Linked DNA regions of Homo sapiens: regions 1 and 2 are each linked to region 3. The links are contacts of gene promoters, found by promoter capture Hi-C in human tissues and cell types (Jung and others, 2019). All regions are on one chromosome and are shown on one strand. Each heading gives the region's core, a stretch centred on a gene start or on the middle of the fragment in contact. The rest is flanking DNA. Distances are from core to core; before and after follow the strand shown.

Evidence for each region. The method cuts DNA at HindIII sites, captures the fragments that hold promoters and counts their contacts. A contact is called where the count stands out against the background at its distance.
Region 1: a contact is called between a fragment that was not itself captured here and the fragment with the promoter of ARHGEF7 in region 3, in 4 of the 25 tissues and cell types used here (aorta, dorsolateral prefrontal cortex, heart right ventricle and 1 more).
Region 2: a contact is called between a fragment that was not itself captured here and the fragment with the promoter of ARHGEF7 in region 3, in 2 of the 25 tissues and cell types used here (heart right ventricle and spleen).

The regions. Positions count from the first base shown.
Region 1 is chr13:111,184,548-111,189,085 of GRCh38, reverse strand. The region is part of intron 2 of ARHGEF7 (Rho guanine nucleotide exchange factor 7); the gene reads right to left. Among named protein-coding and RNA genes, the nearest start is that of ARHGEF7-AS1, 38 kb to the right of the region's middle. RefSeq lists enhancers at 3,857-4,116, 4,217-4,346. The HindIII fragment of the contact is 3,787 bases long and covers 890-4,538 here.
Region 2 is chr13:111,224,491-111,229,030 of GRCh38, reverse strand. All of the region lies in intron 5 of ARHGEF7 (Rho guanine nucleotide exchange factor 7), which reads right to left. Among named protein-coding and RNA genes, the nearest start is that of ARHGEF7-AS1, 78 kb to the right of the region's middle. The HindIII fragment of the contact is 8,988 bases long and covers 1-4,540 here.
Region 3 is chr13:111,112,931-111,117,409 of GRCh38, reverse strand. ARHGEF7 (Rho guanine nucleotide exchange factor 7) reads right to left here and starts at 2,100. Exons shown (of 22, transcript NM_001354046.2): 1 at 1,719-2,100. The coding sequence starts at 1,883. ARHGEF7-AS2 (ARHGEF7 antisense RNA 2) reads left to right here and starts at 1,732. Exons shown (of 2, transcript NR_046667.1): 1 at 1,732-1,863; 2 at 2,492-3,598. RefSeq lists a silencer at 2,138-2,227. The HindIII fragment of the contact is 8,096 bases long and covers 1-3,265 here.

The DNA.
Region 1 (4,538 bases), core at 1,534-4,033, 71 kb before region 3:
AGGCTCAAAATGGAGCTGTTCTATCAGCCTGGATGCTGAAGAAAGACACTTGGAGCAGAGCAACACCTTATCTGCAGCTAACACATAACTGACATAATAAACCTTTGGGGGTGCAAAACACTGAAATGTAGGAACTGTTTATTAATACGCCATCATCTAGCAGGAGGTGGTAACATGTCCATATTTCATAATTTCCCCAACAGAACTTATTCCTGAAGGAGAGGAAATGCATCCTGCAAAAACAAAATCAAAACTCATTAAGTGAAGCAGTTAGGTCACCGAAGAGTAACTTTTATCATTTTAACACAACATGATAAAAGTAAGTAGCTCTTAGCTGGCTAAGACACAGAGAATTCTCCATTATTCAAAATAAGGAAGACTTATCAACACAGTATGTATTCCATGGCAAACAAGGTTTTCCCTTTCTTCTCAAATTCTAAACACAGTAATCACATAACTGCTAACGGCTGCTGTTTTACAGAAATCTCCAAGAAAAAAAGACACAAATGCAAGTCGGCCCTGAAGGAGCACATTCTTTCGCAGAAGCCTCTCGGCTGCTGATCCTCTGGGGGATCCAGCACCGTGTAGGAGGAAGGCAGGCAGGGAAAGGATGGATAGCAGTGGACTCTGACAGACATGCACTTGGCTCCACCCTTCACCTCCAGGCACAGATGCTGCTCATCCATTTCTACAGGCAACTCACTCTAAAACTCAGTGGCCCAAACAACAAGCATCTGTTATCTCAGTTTCTGCGTGTCAGCGTTCAGGGCAGCTTAGCTGGGTGAATGTGGCTCTGGGTCTCAGGGGAGGTCGTTGAGATGTCAGCTGAAGCTGTGGGATTCTGGCAGCCTAAGGCCTTGCAGGGACTGAGGAGGTGCTACCAAGACAGCTCCACAGCGTGGCTGTGAGCAGGAGGCCTCAGTTCCTGAGTCCTCAGAGAACGGACAACGGACTCCACAGAGCGAGTGATCCCAGGGCACACGCAGGAAGGAAAGCAGGGCCTGCAGCTTCAGGAATCCTATGAGCTAGCCTCAGCAGTCAGGCAGGCTGTGCTCGGTTCATAAGAAATGAGTCATCAGCCCCACCTGTACTCAAGGAAAAGAGAACAAGGCTCCAACTACAGAAGGGATGAGCATCCAAAAACGGGAAGACATTGCTTGAAAATCACCAGCAGATCCACCCACTCTCAGAGTGCTAGGTTTTTCTCTTCCAGCTGAGTGACCACACCTTCACACTGGATGTCAGATGTCACAGCCACTCTGCCTAGCGGACAAAAGTTGACAAAGAAACGGGTCACAGAAGGACACTCCAATGTTTGGGATTCGAAAGGCTCCCCTACTGATACCCCGATATTAGTGACTTTGCCTCACCCCACTTCCAAATTCATAGGAAGTGTAGAAATTCAGGAATATCTTCCACAGAATAAAAACAGCAAAGCAAACTACATCACAAAATAGATCGTGTGATATGTCTAATATATAACACAATGTACATTATGAAAATACTTCATATAATAAAGATCCTGTGTCAGAACCTTTCCACTACAAGCAAGTAAACCCAACTCAAATTGGCTTAAACAAAAAAAGGAAATTATTGGTTCGCACAACAAACAAGTCAGGAATGGCAAGAGCCACAAGCTCAGAACCGGAAGGCTTTCTCCGCTCTCTTTCCTACTCTCCTGAGTGTGCGCCACAGTTTCAGGAACGGTCTCCCTCATCAGGCAACAGGACCACTGGCAGCCCCAGGCCCACACCACCAGGTCAACACCTCAGATGCATCTCGCTGGACCCAGAGCCCACCACGTGAACCAATTTCACAGCCAGTGAAGCAGAACAAGGAGAGCTGTCCAAGGAGCCAACAATAACGGACACAGCATTCTGGCAAACCCACACATAAACATGTATTAATAATTTAGAGCACAAAAATTCAGACAGTCCCCCAGAGCTAAGGGACACCACTGTAGCACTAGGGCCACACAAATGCACGCAAAAGGACACACTGACCAGCTCTATTCCAGCCCAACTGCTTTCACACCACCCTCCCAATACCCACACCAACAAGCACAGCAACCTTAATCAACCCCGTCAGTACTGACACGAGAGCAAAAGAATGCCTCCTGCCTCCATGGTAGCGCTGGCTGATGCACCTCTACGTAGTAGACCCCAAAAAGACCAGACCGGGAAATGGGGAAAGAAGTAGTCGTCTTTTTGCTTCTCCTCACTTTCCACCATCTCAATACTGACGGAGAGGCCTCTGCAATGTGGGACTGAGCGCACACTTTCTGGGCTCACTGAAGCTTTAGTGGTCTGCGTTGCCACCAGTCAGCTCGCCTCCTCCAGGAACTTGAGAAAGTTATTCTTGACACAAGAAATTGTTATTTTTAGCACAGCTCTGGAGTGTGGTTTGCAAAGTTTAAAAATATAATTTTGTCCTATCACTGTCAAATGGAACTTGTGATTTCAGAACAAGAGTAAAAAATGAATCTTAAATAAGTGGTGCTATTTAAGTTTAATGCAAATGGTCCATATTGTTGGGGACATGTGAAAAACAGAAATCCAGCAGTACGTTTTCACTTCCTGGCTTCTGCAGATTTTGTACTTAATCCCACCCACTCCTACACCCCAGGGGTAAAATTAAAGTCTGATGACGGATGCTATCAATTACGGCACTTTCACCCAACATGCACCCAAATGATTTATTTCACTTTAAAATGAAAATCAAATCTTATTCAATTTTGTGGATTCCACTGTATCAACACCCAAACACTAGGACAGAGAATACATCTTCAAAAAAGAAGTAACCAAGTATTTTAGGTAGTTTCCAGGAAGGGGTGAGAGGAGCAGAGCAGGGAGGCAGGAGCACAGCAACGGGAAGGCAGGCAGGGCTCTTCCCAACAAGATGCTCTCTGCCTTCTGCAGACCGGGCGCAACCTCCACACGAGGCAGGGAAGCGCAGCCCCAACAGGCAGGGGAAAGGAAGGACACCTCCCTGCTTAGGACCACGGCATGCTGTGCTGGCCCACACAGCCCGTACCTCAGTGTAGACTGCATGCCAGTTTATCTTACAGGCAGAAAACGAAAACACACACACACACACACACACACACACACACACACACACACACGAGCTCCCAAAAGACAGTGTGACAAAGCTTACAAAGGCAGAACCAAGATCGGAGCCCACCAGCCTGGCTTTGCCCACACCACCACACTGCCAGCCAGGAAAGGACACCAGAGACAGTGGTGTCCCACAGCGGTCATGCAGGCAGATCAGGCAGCACCCAGGGGAGGAGGGGTGGTCTCAGACACAACTCACCACGTACACACACACAGCAGCCCATACAGCCTACACAGGCCCCCAAACTTCTGTCTTCGACTGCTAGGAGCACATGCCTGCAAAGAACAGCCTGGCTGTCGCCAGAAAGTGAGCACATACCACAAAGAAGGATCTGGGCAGATGCAACACACTGGCTTGGGCTAACAGTAAGTGAAGCAGTAACATTTACAGCTATAAAGGCAATGCGCCCATTCCATTAACTTCAAAATGCAAGCAGTTACAAGACTCCAGTTTTGAGAAGTTTCTCAAGATGGCCCACTGCAAACACCTATCTAACTCCCATCCCTCCCAAGGTGCCACCGAAATGAGAGAAAGAAAAAGCTTCAAAAAATTAACAGAGAAAGAACCCGCTGTAGTGCTAAAAAGGGAAAGGCTATGAGCAGTCTAAACAGGGTTTGAGGAGATCCCTGGGGACAGGACGCAGATGGACTCTGAATGACCTAACAGTTCAGAACAGCACTTGTAAGGGAGCCCCAGGAGCACCAAAGACGGTTTTCTAACACAGGAAGGGACACGTGACCCACCTCAGGACTTCAGCACGACAGCCCCTTCTTCCTGATGGGAAGCTCAGCACCCAGACCCCTCTCTAATTAAAAAGAAGCTGCTGCCTGCACTGGATTCTAACCGGAGGTGAAGTGACCCTCTCTAATTAAAGAGAAGCCTGCGGCCTGCACTGGATTCTAACCGGAACCTGATGCACCACTAGGCCCACACAACAGTCTCTGAGGAAAAAAAAAAATGACAATTCTACCCAGAAGCGAAATCCCCTGGGAGCTCCACCACCAGCCTGGACTATCCCCCATCTGAAGTGTGACACAGGAAACAGGTGCAGAGAAAGTGTCTCCCTCAGCTCTGCTCGTGTAGCTGCTTCTAGAGCCCTCCATCCGGTTCTCCCCACCTGCTCCCAGACACACAACCCGCACAGTGAAGCCCACGGGGCCGGTAACCCACACACAGGACTGCACAGTCCCCTCCGCTCTGATGCCAGTCAACTGGGCTTTTATTCACAAACAGGAAGAACCCATCAAGGCCACACCTGATAGGAAATAACAGCATAGCACAAAGAGAACTGACCTATGACTCCCAAAAAGATGGAGAAGACACATCTCCCCCTCCCTCCAGCTGAATGCAGCTAAAAGCCCTGGATGCTGCCTATAAAACAAACGTCAGCCTCAGAATGTGAGAGAGGAGGCAGACCGGCT
Region 2 (4,540 bases), core at 1,854-4,353, 110 kb before region 3:
GGAATTTCTGCCTCTTTTGAGAAGAACACACTTCTGTGAGTCCTCACTTGCCTCTTCCGCTTGACTGGAAGCCACCCAGCCGCTTCCCTCTGTTTCAGTGGTTACGCTTTCATTTGTGACGTGTCACCAACCCAGCAAAGTCCAGAGTTAATCATCACCGCTGGCTTCAACCACCAGAGCAGACATGGCCCTGAAAAACTCGGAATTCCCACGTCCTCTTCCGACCTTCTGTGCTGGGGCTCTGTGCGTGGTTTGTTGGCTGTTACTCACGCACTCAGAGTTCACAGAGTCAATGTCTGTGTGTGTCTGCCCGTGCTCAGCAGTGTCTGCCTGCCGCTTTCCTGAACCACATGCACCCTCCTGTCAGGTGACGTCCTCCGAGTTGTTCAAGGGATGATCTGCTAAGACGCTCGATCTTTGTTCGAAAATGTTATAATTGTGCCATTACTTTTTCCCAAACTTTTAGAAACTTAAAAATATACATAAACATACAGAGAATGACCACGTATAGACTCTTAACAGTGTTAGCAGTCCTCAGCATCGAGCCTGCCTCATCCGCTCCCGCCGTGTTCTCTGCTGGAAGCACCATCAGCAAGTCTCAGAGATGAGGTCATCTCCACTCACCAACACTTCAGTGTTAGCAAAGGGAGCTTTTCTTCTTTAAACTCAAAACCCTAACCTCAGACCATTATCACACCTGACGATATTAATAATTTTTAAATAGTATCTAATGCCTAGTCTATATTCAGATCTTCCTGTGTGTCAAAACAATGGCTTTCTGATGTCAGCTTATTTGAATCAGGAACCAAATGAAGTCTGCGCAGCACATCTGGCTGCTGTGCCACTAAAGTCTCTTTCATTCTATAAAAGCGCCCCCTCCTCTTTTTTGGATGCCAGTAGAGAGCAGAGAGCACAGACCTGCACGCTTACCTCATGTGCCGTGCAGGACACCTCAGATGTGCTTCATAACTTCTGGGAAGACACTCTTGGTTTTCCCACTGCTGTGTTTCTCAGTTTCCACAACAGTGCTCACCAAAGTAAGTATTTGGGGAATGGATGCTGGGTGTGGCTTTAGAGCCAAGTGTAACTGGTGTAACTGTGAACAACCTTGACAATGCAACAGGAAGATACAGGTGAGTAAAGGCAGAATGTGGGAGGATAGAGAAAAGGGTCAAGGTGAATCTTCACGGAACAAAATGGGGCATCAGGAGGTATCTGCCAAATGTCACTGAAATACAAATAAGACTAAAGCATCTCGTTTAGCACACCAACAGAGGAAACCAACAGAAGAACAAATTAATCACAAAGAACAAACCTAGAAGAAAGTAGGAGGAAGAAGGTAAGTCAAACGGGGTACACAGGGAGACCCTGAAGTTGCTGAGGGCTTGGTTTCAGACCATGGCAATACAGTGAGTCACACAAATTTGTTTCCTACTGCATATAAAAGCTATGTTTACACTATACTGTAGTCTATTAAGTTTGCAATTGCACTGTCTTTAAAAAAAGTACATTCCTTAGTTAAAAAAAAAGTTTCTAAAAAAATGCTAACAATCATCTGAGCCTTCAGCAAGCTGTAATCTCTTTGTAGAGGGTCTTGCCTTGATATGGATGGCTGCTGACTGATCAGTGGCTGCAGAAGGCTGCGGTGGCTATGGACACTTCTTGAAACAAGACAATGAAGTGTGCCAGTATCAACTGATTCTTCCTTTCATGAAAGATTTCTCTGGAGCGTGAGATGCTATTTGGTAGCATTTTACACACATACAACTTCTTACAAAATTAAGAGTCAATCTTCTCAAACCCTGCTACCACTTTATCAACTAACTTTTTGCAACAGTCTAAATCTTTTGTTATTTCAACAATGTTCACGGCACTTCAGCAAGGGTAGATTCTATTTCAAGAAACCACATTCTTTGCTCAGCCATAAGGAGCAACTCTTCATCCATTCAAGTTTTCTCATGAGACTGCAGCAGTTCAGTCACATCTCCAGGCTCCACTTCCAATTTTAGTTCTCTTGCTGTTCCCACCACACAGGTAGTTCCTTCCTAAACTGAAGTCCTGAGGCCCTAAGGTCATCCATCAGGGTTAGAATCAATGTCTTCCAAACTCCTGTTGATGTTGATATTTTAACCTCCTCCCATAAATCACAAATGTTCTTAACAGCATCTAAAGGGGTAAATCCTTTCCAGAAGGTTTTCAAATTACTTTGCCTAGATCCATTAGAGGAACCACTATTTATGGCCTTACAAAATGTATTCCTTAAATGCTAAGACCCAAAAATCTAAATTAATCCTTGACCCATGAGCTGCAGTATGGATGCTGTGTTAGCAGCATGAAAACAACATTAATTTCTTTGTATGTCTCCCTCAAAGCTCTTGGGTGATTAGGTACACTGTCAATAAGCAGTAACATGCTCAAGGGAATCTTTTTTTCCTGAGTGGGAGGTCTCTAAAGTGGGCTTAAAATATTCAGCAAACCATGACACAAGCAGATGTGCCACCATCCAGGCTTTGTTGTTCTAACTTACAGCGCAGAGAGGCAAAGTTGGTTAAGCATAATTCTTAAGGGTACTAGGATTTTCAGAATGGTAAATGAGAATTGGCTTCAACTCAGTCACCAGCTACATTAACCCCAGACCAGAGAGTCAGCCTGTTGGTGTGGCCACCTTCACCGATGATGTCAGCTAGATCTTCTGGATGACTTGCTGCAGCTTCTCCGTCAGCACGTGCTGCTTCACCCTGCACTTTCATCATGTTCTGGAGACGGCTTCTTTCCTTCAACCTCATGCACTAACCTCCATTAGCTTCAAACTCTTTTTCTGCAGCTTCCTCACCTCTCAGTCTTCATAGAATTGAAGAGATTAGGCTTTGCCCTTAAGGAAATGTTGTGGCTGGTTTGATCTTCTATCCACACCACTCAAACTTTCTCCATATCAGCAATAAGGTGGTTTCATTGCTTATCATTCATGTGTTCACTGGAGTAGCACTTATAATTTCCTTCAAGAGCTTTTCATTTGTATTCACGACTGACTGGTGCAACAGGCCTAGCTTTCAGCCTGTCTCACCTTTCTACATGCCTTCCTCACTAAGGTTAATCGTTTCTAGCTTTTTATTTAAAGTGAGAGACATGCAACTCTTCCTTTCATTTGAACACTTAAGAGGCCATAGTAAGGTTATAAACTGGTTTAATTTCAGTATTTTTGTGTCTCAGGGAATGAGTGGCCTGGGGAAAAACATGGGGAATTCCCGGTCAGTAGGGCAGTCAGAATACACACAACATTTATCAATTAAGTCTGCCATCTTACATGGGCATGGTTCATGGCACCCCAAAACAATTCTAACAGTAACACCAAAGGTCCCTGATCACAGATCACCATAACGGATACAATAATGAAAAGCTGTGAAATCGTGCAAGAATTACCCAAATGAAGCACTGGGACAAGTGGGCACATGGTGCTGGAAAAATGGCACCAACAGTGTTGCCACAAGCCTTCCATTTGTAAGAGAAAAAAAAAAAAACAAAAAAACAAGCAAAGTGCAATAAAGTGAGATACGCCCTATAAATCTAAGCAGAGAAGTCTCTGCATACTGTGAAGAGTTGCGAGGCAGCTACGTAGGAGAGGAGAGGAGGTGAGTAACGCCTCTCCCTGGATCAGGGCTGTGGGAGTGGGTGGCCTGTGCTCTTCCCCACATGAGCTCTTCCGTCTACTGGCTATCACATGCTACAAGCATGTGGCATGTAAGTAATACAATTACTTAAGCATAAATGCAAATAAAACTTTTTTAAAAAAGAGAAGCTCTAATACTGGAAGACTAACAACCTGACCCCTAATTACTCTAAGTCAGCTGGTCTATGGGACGTGCTCCTGAAACGGAAGATGTGTAATCATCACCGACAACGGGAGGCAGCCACATTGCAGTGAGGACATGCTCGGTATACCAATCTAGGAAAATATTCACTTTCACACGCCAGAAACATTTCCAAACCATCTACTCCAAGACCCCTTTGTACATAATGCTATAATACGCTCCCTACGCCTGCCTCGGGGGGCCCATATCTTCTAATTTATGTTCTTCTCTCTTGTTTAAAAACAATTACATCTTGAAACAATAGTGCTGAGAGGTCCATCCTGTAATGCAGCCTCATGTGTCCCATCCAAACCCAATCCTCACCGGAGAGGAGGAAGGACTACAGCACAAGCTCACATCCAGTGGCACGAAGGAAGGCAAGGTTCTGGGGTACTTTTGTCCTTTTCCCCGCACAGATTATACTCACATCAAACACTGTTCCTCCACAGCTAAATTAATAACGACATCCAAAATTCAGCTGCGTGTTGCTTTATGTCAAAAATAAGTAAAAAATATTTAAAAGTGACCAACTTAAAAAGTGGCAATGTCGTTAAAGATCTGTGGATCAGCAAATGACAGTCCCATTTAAGCTCTCACATCACTGCCAAACACAGACAGTCATCATCTCAAGCTAACCAGCCCCCAAAACAGCATTTAAAAGAAATGTCTTTACAACAGATAATAAGCTGTCC
Region 3 (4,479 bases), core at 851-3,350:
CTGTAGTTTTAGAATATGTTGAGTTGTTTCAACTTGGCTTCTGCAAGCTCAACATTTTATTCGTTCTTCTCTTTGTTGTTTTAGAGATGAAATGAACGCTACGGTTTTCTAGGAAAATCTTTCTATAATTTAAAAGAAAATGATTATTGAAGTCGGCCAATCAATATTAATACAGTTAATATGCCAAACAACATATTCTTTGATGGCGACATGTTTTTATCAATACAGCATATGACACTTCTTAAAGCTTTGCTCTTAGGGATGGAACAGAATTTTATTTAAGCCTATTTTGGTGAACTTTGCATGCATTTCAACACTTTTCAACATCTGTCTTTCATTACCAGAGGTACCAGTATCCAAACAGCAAAGTATTTTGAATGCCTTGAAAGTCAGCTCCTGCTCCTCAGTCCTCCTGTCTTAAATCATAATTTCACTGTGACATCAGGTTCATTTTTAAGGAACATTTTTATTTCATGGACAGGCAGGCAGCCATTCACTCTAATATGCAGATTCTGTTTTCATAAAGATGTTCCAAGTAAGAAAAATAGCTAAAAGTGGAATGCAAGCCAAATTCATATTAAATAAAATGTTTTCTGACCTCATTTAAAATGTAGCAAGAGAATATGTACATGTGAATGAAAAAAATTAAACATTTTACTTTTTCAAGTCACTTACGTGGCATTTTATTTACAAGTTGTTGTCATCCTGTATGGGGGCCAATACACCCCACTTAAAAACTGAAATCCTTCTTCCTAATTATGGTACACTTCAATTTCTATATTTAACACCTTTTAAATAACTGTTGATCTTAACGCTATATATTGGCCACCCCCACCCCCACCCCACCCCCCGAAGAAACACCCTGGGAATAAGATTTTAGTATTTTGAGCTACAGGGAGACATCGTTTTTAGAAACTCTCCTGCCTCCTCGGCCCTGCTGGCCGGCTTGTGGGCGATGAAAACAAACTTTAATCACTTCCAGAGATTCGGGTCAGGGTTCACACGCTCCAGCCTGGGAACCACCAGCCGGAAGGGAGAAGCAGTGCCTGCAGGACTAAAGGTTCTGTTCAGAACGAGGGAGGGACCTGAGAACGAAATCTAGAATTTTAACAAGCCTTGAAGAGTGCCAGGACTTAGACCCTGTGTCTGCCGTCCTCTCGGCTCGGATAGGTGGGGAATTTTCTCGAGGGGAAAGTAGTAGATCGTTTCACAGCGCAGCCCTCAGCTACAGATGCGTGCCTCTTTAAAAATACAGAGCAACCGGTCAATTAACCTGGGAGGCGAAACTCACGCAACGCCACCGGCAAGAACTGTCCACACAAAGCCAGCGGAGTGAGCCGCACCGCGTCGGAACGCGGTTTCCGATGCGGCTGCTGCCAGGGAGCGGGGCCGGCCCCCCACGCGGAGGGGCAACTTAGCGTTCGGGCGGCGCAGAAGCCCCGTCTCCTCGCTGCGGTGCACTCTCCTTCCCGGGGACCCCCGCCGCCCGCGCCGCCCCTCCCCCCGACCCCGCTCCCCGGCCCCCTCCCCCTGCCCCGCACACAATGGCGCCCCCCGAGCTCCCGCCACGGTCCTGGCGCCGGCCGCGCCGCCGCTCCGCGCACAAAGGAGGGCGCACGGGTTTCCCGAGCGCGGCCGGCCTCAGGTGCTCCGCGCGCATCCCGGGCCGCAGCGGGCCGGACCGGGGGGCGCGGGCGGGGGCGCGGGCCGGGACTTACTTTCTCGATGGTCCCGGGGAGCAGGCGCTCCAGCAGCCTGCAGAGGACCACCCCATCCTTCAGCGACGCCTGCAGAAAGCCCTCCGGGTCCGAGATGGTTTTTTTGGGCGACTCCAGCACCCCCAGAGTGATGAGCCACGTAACGGTTTGCTCGGCGGAATTCATCGCTGCGGCCCGGGAGGCAGGCGGGGAGGGGCGCGCGCCTTCACCTCGGAGCGGCGGCCCGGCCCGCGGCCCCCGCCGCCGCCGCCGCCGCCTCGCCCATCGAGCGGCCGGCGCCGGCGATTGGCTCGGCGCGGCCCAGCAGGTCCGGCCCGGCCCGCTTCTCCGTGCGCCCCGGCCCGCTGTCAGGCGCCTTCTCAGGAGCGGCTCGGGAACCTGCGGGCGCCCGCCGCCGCCCCCCGGCCTCGGCCGCCGTCGCCCAATGACATCACCGCCAGGAGAAGAAAGACGCGGCCGTCCGCCCGGCCCGCGCCCGGCCCGCGCCGCCCCGCGCCCTGCGCAGCCTCCGCTCCAGGCCGTGCGCGGGGCGGCGGCGGCGGCTGGGAGCGGGCGGGGAAGGGAAAGGGGAAGGGGAGCGGGGAGCGGATGGGGAGGGAGCCGGGGGTGGGGGCGGGCGCGCACCTGCGCTTACCTGCCCCGGGCCCGCCGTGCGCCCCGCGCCCCTGGCCGGGGCACTCGGAAGCCTTTGTTTATGTTTTGAATTCGTGAGCGTTGAAATGATGAAGTACTTCCCAGAATGCTCTTTTTATTTTTGCCGGTTTTATTTCAAGGTGGCGGGGACAGGCTGAAAACGAGACGTTTGTTTCGCTTTGCTACCTTGCAAGCCGGTCATGACGGAACAGAAATGATGGTTCCATCTGAAGCCATATGGGTCTGAATCGGGAGGAACCGACTCTCCGGAGCGCGGCGCCGACCTCACCGGCAGGGCAGGGGCCTGCGCGACTCTGCTCTAGACGGACGGTGACGCTTCAGACCCTGCCGGGGGAAGGTCAAGGAAACGGCGTGGCCTGAAGTGGGGCTGTGCAGAGGGCCGGGCCGGGCCGGGCCGGGCGCCTGGCTGCGTCTCGGGGACGCCGAAGATCTGGGCTGTGAAAGCAGCAGGCCGAACCTGGAGAGCCCAGACGGCAAGTGTCGCGTCATGCGCGAGCTTCCTCGAACAACTGATGACACGCACACATTGACATGCGAGGAAGAAATGGAGCCTCTTCTTAAAAGGACACGAGTCTCCACTCACTCCATCCACTGTCCCTGGGCGCTCCCCCAGTTTGCTCGCTATGACCCGCGGGCAGTTTAACAAGCAAAGCACTTAGTCTATGCCAGGCACATACATTAATCCATTCAATGACAAAGGCTAGAAAGCATATAAAGCTTCCAAAAATAATCAGAGGCTTAAGTCGTCTCCCCCTGCCTTCTGCCGGTGGATTTCTCTTGCAATCACTAATTGCTTTTATTTCTAGCCTTGAGTTAAGTGGTTAAAATTTTCTTTGCAAATACAAAAAATATTCAAATGGCAGTATGAATTCTGGATTACGAGGACAATGTGCTCAGTGATAACAGCGACTGGTTAGGAACCGTCACAAAGTGCTGTCTACTGCCTCGCCTCCCATCATGGTCCCCTTTTACTGATCAGATGCCGAACAAGTGGCAGAGATAAGACCCAAAGCTCGGCTCCTACCAGGAAAGGCATACCTAACCCGTTTCCTACTGCTGCCCTATAAGCTTTCTAGGAAACAGGAGGGCAATTAACAGCTACATCAAGGCTTGTACCCAGTGTCTTCGTGGAAGGAAAGATGTCAACCCGGGGCGTGGTTGTACACCGAGACTTCTGTTCACTTTCCTTACTGCTGAATTAGAGAAATAATTTAATGCAGTCCTTACCATTTCGAATCCTACTAAATTCGGTTTGATACTTATAAGGTGGTAGACTTGAGTAAGATTCAAATAGACTCAATTAAATGGTCCTATAGAAAGCCAATTCTAGGGAGTGACCTTACGAGACCAGTGAAGCAGAGAGCCAATTCTTGTCGGACTGGAGACCCACAGTCCAGGTATTACAACTCGTCTTTTCTTGGTGGGGAGAAGCCCAGACTTTTAAACACTTTATGGTTACTAGTTGCGTTCTTTTATGTTGGGTATTTATTAATTTCAGAAAAAGAGTTTACTTGGAAGGGATTTTAGAAAGTAACATTGCTCAAAGCTAGATATTTTTAGGTGCTTAATTGAGTTGTTTTAGTATCCAAAGTGGGCATTTTGGTTAAACTTTCCTTAGCACTTTTCCAGGTTCCTATTACAGAGGCCACGCGGAGTGCAATCTGGTGCCCATCACTTTTGGGCTATTGGGTTAGCTCGAGTTAAGACTATTGTCTAAGGGGAAGTTTAGCCCTTTCTGTGGCTCTCCTCTGGACTTGCCTCAAGAGGTGGAGAATGGCTTTCCACGCAAGCCTGTGGCTTCGCTTCCTTCGTTTCTAATGAGAGAATGTCAGCCTCACACCCAGCTTGGCTGCTTGCTAGTGCCTGGTAGGCACCTTCCACATCACTGTTAGGAGTTCACGCACAAACCCTACTGCAAACCAGTTACCACCCAAAGCTCAGCTGAACCCTGCCAACTCAGCGTGTGTGGGGTCACTATAAAAATGCCAAAATCTAAAAAATAAGGCAAAATTCACTCCAAACTTAAGCTGGACAATCAGATGACCATTTACCTAGAGTGGGTAGTAATCACTCCCTGTAGAACTACCCTTATCCAACTGGACCCTGT